2 separate regions of the Homo sapiens genome follow, and region 2 is linked to region 1. Evidence: promoter capture Hi-C in human tissues and cell types (Jung and others, 2019). All regions are on one chromosome and are shown on one strand. The core of a region is centred on a gene start or on the middle of the fragment in contact, and the rest is flanking DNA. Distances in the headings are between cores, read along the strand shown. Region 1 holds the start of COL9A2 (collagen type IX alpha 2 chain). Region 2 overlaps SMAP2 (small ArfGAP2).

Region 1 (2,700 bases), core at 161-2,660:
TACGGGCCCCAGTTTGCAGTCGAAGAAACTGGCTCAGAACGTGAAGGGTCCATGGTCACTGAGAGTGGGCGGCGGCGCCAGGAGTCCGCCCTGGATCTGCCCGACTCCTTCCACTGTGCCAGTTTGCCCTTGCGCGGTCGCGGTGGGGAATAGATGGAGACGTGGACAGCTCAAATAAATCACAGATGGAATGTAAGGTTGTGCCTAGCAGGCTGCCGGCCCTCAGTGAGCGGTGGCTCGGGTTGTTGTTCTTACGTGAACGACAGGCAGAGACAGCGCCTCCTCCTCTCCCCATGGTGCGGGAAAACCCGACGGGAAAGTGGGGGAGGCGCAGAGAAAGGAGGTGTAGGGAGGTGAAGCGGGTACTATCTTCCCACTCGGAGCGCCCCTTCGGCAGCACAGCTGCCCGGTCCTCCCTCTGCTAAGCCCTGACTGCTGCAGGGGAGCAGGAGGAGCCGGCACCTCCCAGAAAGCAGACCCTCTCTCTGGATCCCGTTTGCCTGCAATTCAATGCCCCTGGGTGGGTGTGAGGTTTCAGGGAGGTCACAAGTCATATCAAGATGAGGCGAGCTCACAGCTGGAGAGTCTCCATCCTGCTGCCCATCTCTGAACAGATCAGAGATCTTAAAAGGCGGCCCTTTTAAGAGGCCAGCTCGGACCCAGGCAGGGGTCCCGGTGCCCACGACCTCCCCAGGCCGCGAAGTGCCAGGCTGGCGCCCCGCAGGCGAGCTCGAAACCACACCCAGCACCCGACCGGGCCCAGTCTCTGCCCTACCCGCGCGCCCGCAGCCCCCGGCGGCCCTCGGAAGGGAGACGTGGGTAGGCGGGCAGGGCCGAGAGGCCGCCTCGGGGCGACAGCGGCGTCTGGTTGGAGCCGGCGCCCCCTGGGAGGCGGCGGGGGCGGAGGCTGCGCAGCGGGTGAATGAGCACCATTGTATGCCCCGCCACCTGGGCTCCCCGGGCTGCCAGGACCGGGCGCCAGCTCCTGCCCCACGCTGCCTGTCCCGGGCCGGGCCGCGCGTCTGGGGACGGGTCCCGTTTGACTCTCCGGCTCAGCCACCTCCATTCACGGTGCCGCGATGGGCACCATGTATGCACCCACCGAGGGGACCTGCCCGCGGCGCTGTCCTCAGGTGGCCTCTCGGGCTAGGGGTGTCAGTAGGCGCGGGACACAGGCAGAGCTCCTCCATCCCGGACTCCAGACCCCGCACCCTGGACCCTGGCAGCGGAGGGGCTGCGAAACTTACAATCTGCGCCAGAGCGAGCACTACCACCTGGAGGAGAACAAGGAGGCTGCGGGGGGAGGCCGTAGCGGCGGCCATGGCTGGCGGCGAGACCAAGGGGGACGGGTGCGTGTCCGCGCACGCACCGACGGCAGAGTCTCCCGGCGCTCCTCCAGCGCTGGCTGTTCGCGGGCAGGGTGGGCTGGGGCTCCTGAATATGCGGGGGGCGGGGCGGGGGCCGGCGTGAGCTGTCACCTGAGAGGACCGGCGGGGTTGCCGGGAGGGAGGCCGGCGCCAGGCATCCAGCTCCGCCCCGCTCGGTCCAGCCTCCTGCGCCCACCCTCTGTCCTCGAGGGGCGACCGGGGTGCGGGTCGGAGATGATGGTCCAGTTTCTTTGTGAGAAGGCATAAGGCCGTCTGAGGTTCCCCTCGGGACCTTCAGGCCCCAGCACCTTCCCCCTGACGCACAGCCTGTGCCCCATCACTTACCCTACGTCCTCTCCAGGGCCCAGGCCGAGAGCACCTCGGGCTCTGCAGATCTTGCTGCAGGCTCTCCCCAGCTCCCGCCCACCTTGCTCCCCTCTCCTCTGGCTCCTTCCTCTCCAAGCACAAACAAACAGGCCTTTTCCATATTAATATGCCACAGTCCTTCCTGGATCAGCCGTCTCATGAATACTCCATCGGCCTCTTCCAGCTCTTTAGTGGAGCTGTGTGCACCTCCCCCACCCCCGAACTTCCTCACCTCGCTTTCACCTCCCTACTCTGTCCCAACAAGCAAATCTGTCTCCTGGAGGTCTGCAGTGAAGCCCAACCCTTCTTCGGTCCTCCAGGCAGGAAGCTGTTGGCATCTTCACCTGCCCTTGAAGTCTTCCCCATCCAAGCTCCTGCCATCCAGCTCCCCTTTTTCTATTGCCTTTAATTCTCTGCAGCTGCCTTAAGCACTGGTGTGTTTAGGATTGGGCCTTCTCACTCCATGTTCATAGAAACAACTACCACTTTATTCACCAGAGTTTCCGAACCCCGCTGTCCAGCATAGCCCGACTCCAGAGAGCCTTCCCTTCCCTCCCACTCACTTAGGCAATATTGGTAAAATGCTTTGGAATCTGACTTTTTCACAATTATAGATATGACCACAGGCACCCCAAACTCTATGAAGTCTCATTTTCCTCATCTGTAAAATGGGGATACTAATAGTCCATATATATATATATATATATTTTTTTTTTAAGACAGAGTCTTAAAAGGCTCTGGAGTGCAGTGGCACGATGTCAGCTAACTGCAACCTCGCCTCGCGGGTTCAAATGATTCCCCTGCCTCAGCCTCTCGAGTAGCTGGAATTACAGGCATGAGCCACAATGCCTGGCTAATTTTTATATTTTTAGTAGAGATGGGGTTTCGCCATGTTGGCCAGACTGCTCTTGAACTCCTGACTTCAGGTGATCTGCCTGCCTCAGCCTCCCAAAGTGTTGGGATTACA
Region 2 (2,700 bases), core at 111-2,610, 70 kb after region 1:
TGTGTAATGCTCTCATTTTATGATGTATTGAAACAGTGAAGCAAATGCGAGAGGGAGAGAGACCTACTCTCAGCTGTAGCTGATAAGTGTGTCCTAGCATGGTGATTTGAGCAAATAGAGCACCTTTTCTTTTCCTTTTCTTCAAATAGCCATGCTGTCTTTTGCAGCAGTTGCTGGTGACGGAATACCATAAATCCCCAGGCCTCTACCACAGAGCTTACATCTTTAGATGTGGGTTTACATGTTAATCCTACAATGTTATTTCACCTCAGTGGTCTGAAGTGCGCACACAGTACATTTTGTTCTTTAACTTCCTCTTTTCTTGTCTAACTGGAAGTCCCCAAATGTGTGGATTTAGAAATGAGTTCTCTAGTGTTTCTAGTTTTGAGTTAAGGAAGTTTTGTCTTGATATTGTTTAGGTGGTTGTTTTTGTTCTGTGCCTTCAAAAATAATTTCTTACAGAATTTTCTGTGTGAACTGGTGACATCATATGCTGTAGTGTAAAGCTTGTAGAGAAGGGGGCATTGGTGTCTTTTTGTTGTTGTTGACACTTTATCACTCCTTATAACTGACACAAACCCTGAGAAGAGAAACAGGAAGGAAACTCCCTGTTCTTACCATGATGCTTTTGTTCAAAATAGCTGAAAACAGCAGAGCTGACGGAAACCAATTTGAGTGTGACAGCTGATTTGAGAAAGAATGAATTAAGAGATTCAGGCTCTTCTGCTATGTTGAAATCATTTTTACTGAAAGATTAGCTGTTTGGAACAGGGATTGACTTTGTCTCTCTGAAAGTAGGCATGAAGAGTTCGGTTAGAGGAACCGTTACAGATGGAGGAGAAACTTGAGGAAAGGTCTTTCCTGTAGTGTGACTACAGTATTAACATTCCCAGATTATATGAAAGAGAAAGGAAGCTTCATTAAATGAAACATTGGAATCAGGAAGACTCCGGCTTGGCTCCCTGAGCATTCTAACTTGTTCTGAGCCTAGTCTCGACAGAAGTAGCCTGACACAAGTGGCTCAGATCAAGGGTCCATATTACGGGCAGAGTAAAAATAGGTCCCAGTTTCATTAGACTTCTCATACATTTAAGGAAAAAAAGATTTGTTGCCATAGGAACAGACCAGTTGTTTTCTGTCTTGTGGGATTTTAGGAGCTGGGGAGATAGGAGGATCCCTGTGCTTATAATCTAAACATCAGTAAATGCTGGTTTTTTTTAAAACAACAACAACTTTATCTTTTATGATTCTGAAACCTATCCACGATAAAAATCATTGGAAAGTATGAAAAATATAATGATGCTGAAGGTATTTTTCATAATTCTTTTTTTTTTTTTTTTTTGGAGACAAGGTCTCTCGCTCCGTCGCCCAAGCTGGAGTACAGTGGCACGATCTCAGCTCACTGCAGCCTCTATCAGGCTTAAGCAGTTCTTCTGTCTCAGCCTTCATAGTAGCTGGGACTACAGGTGCACACCACCACGTCCAGCTAATTTTTGTATTTTTAGTACAGACAGGGTTTTGCCATGTTGCCCAGGCTAGTCTCGAACTCCTGAGCTCACATCATCTGCCTGCCTCGGCCTGCCGGAGTGCCAGGATTACAGGCATCAACCACCATGCCCGGCCTTATTTTTCATAATTCTTATCACCCATTTACTTGAGCTTATACCATAATGATTTTATATCATTCTTTTTTGCTTAACATTTATTATAAGCTTATTTCATGACATTAAAAACGTGTAAATACCTTTATTGTATCCCAGCATTGGAATATGTCATTATTATCTCTTGCCCAATTGTTAATATTTGAATTTTCAATTTTTTAACAATACAAATAAGGAAGTATAAATTTTTGTGTTGTTGTTAGAGTGATGGGTTATTTATGTGTTCAGATTTGAGTAGTCAAGTGGGCCCTCTAATTTAAAAAGTTACCAAGGGGATTCTCTGGGTTGAGCCCACGTAGAGATGGCTTTGCTATGGGCATTATCATTCTGAACTGCTTCATTGCAGTAGATGTCTGCTGAGGCAAGGAATGGGGAATTCGGGAGAACCCTGGTTTCCCCATAAGGGACCTAAGGAACATAAGGGACATAAGGAACAGCTTTATGGGTCATACCACAGCAAGATGGGCCGGCACTTTCACATTGAGAGGTGACAGCGTGCTGGCAGCCCTCACAGCCCTCGCTCGCTCTCGGTGCCTCCTCGGCCTTGGCACCCACTCTGGCCGCACTTGAGGAGCCCTTCAGCCCACTGCTGCACTGTGGGAGCCCCTTCCTGGGCTGGCCGAGGCCGGAGCTGGCTCCCTCGGCTTGCGGGGAGGTGTGGAGGGAGCCAGCTCCGGGAACCGGGGCTGTGTGCCGCACTTGTGGGCCAGCTGGAGTTCCGGGTGGGCATGGGCTTGGCGGGCCCCGCACTTGGAGCAGCCGGCCAGCCCTGCTGGCCCTGGGCAATGAGGGGCTTAGCACCTGGGCCAGCGGCTGCAGAGGGTGTGCTGGGTCCCCCAGCAGTGCCGGCCCACCGGCGCTGCGCTGGATTTCTCACCGGGCCTTAGCTGCCTTCCCACGGGGCAGGGCTCGGGACCTGCAGCCCGCCATGCCTGAGCCTCCCCCCACCTCTGTGGGCTCCTGTGCAGCCTGAGCCTCCCCAACGAGACCGCCCCCTGCTCCACGGCACCCGGTCCCATCAACCACCCAAGGGCTGAGG

Evidence for each region. Contacts are between HindIII fragments. The study calls those that stand out against the background at their distance.
Region 2: a contact is called between a fragment that was not itself captured here and the fragment with the promoter of COL9A2 in region 1, in 2 of the 25 tissues and cell types used here (H1 embryonic stem cells and mesenchymal stem cells).

What each region holds. Positions count from the first base shown.
Region 1 is chr1:40,315,876-40,318,575 of GRCh38, forward strand. It overlaps COL9A2 (collagen type IX alpha 2 chain), which reads right to left and starts at 1,411. Exons shown (of 32, transcript NM_001852.4): 1 at 1,248-1,411. The coding sequence starts at 1,322. RefSeq lists enhancers at 269-905, 906-1,542 and a silencer at 586-1,095. The HindIII fragment of the contact is 32,999 bases long and covers 1-2,700 here.
Region 2 is chr1:40,385,530-40,388,229 of GRCh38, forward strand. The region is part of intron 1 of SMAP2 (small ArfGAP2); the gene reads left to right. Among named protein-coding and RNA genes, the nearest start is that of SMAP2, 13 kb to the left of the region's middle. RefSeq lists an enhancer at 216-485. The HindIII fragment of the contact is 3,706 bases long and covers 1-2,700 here.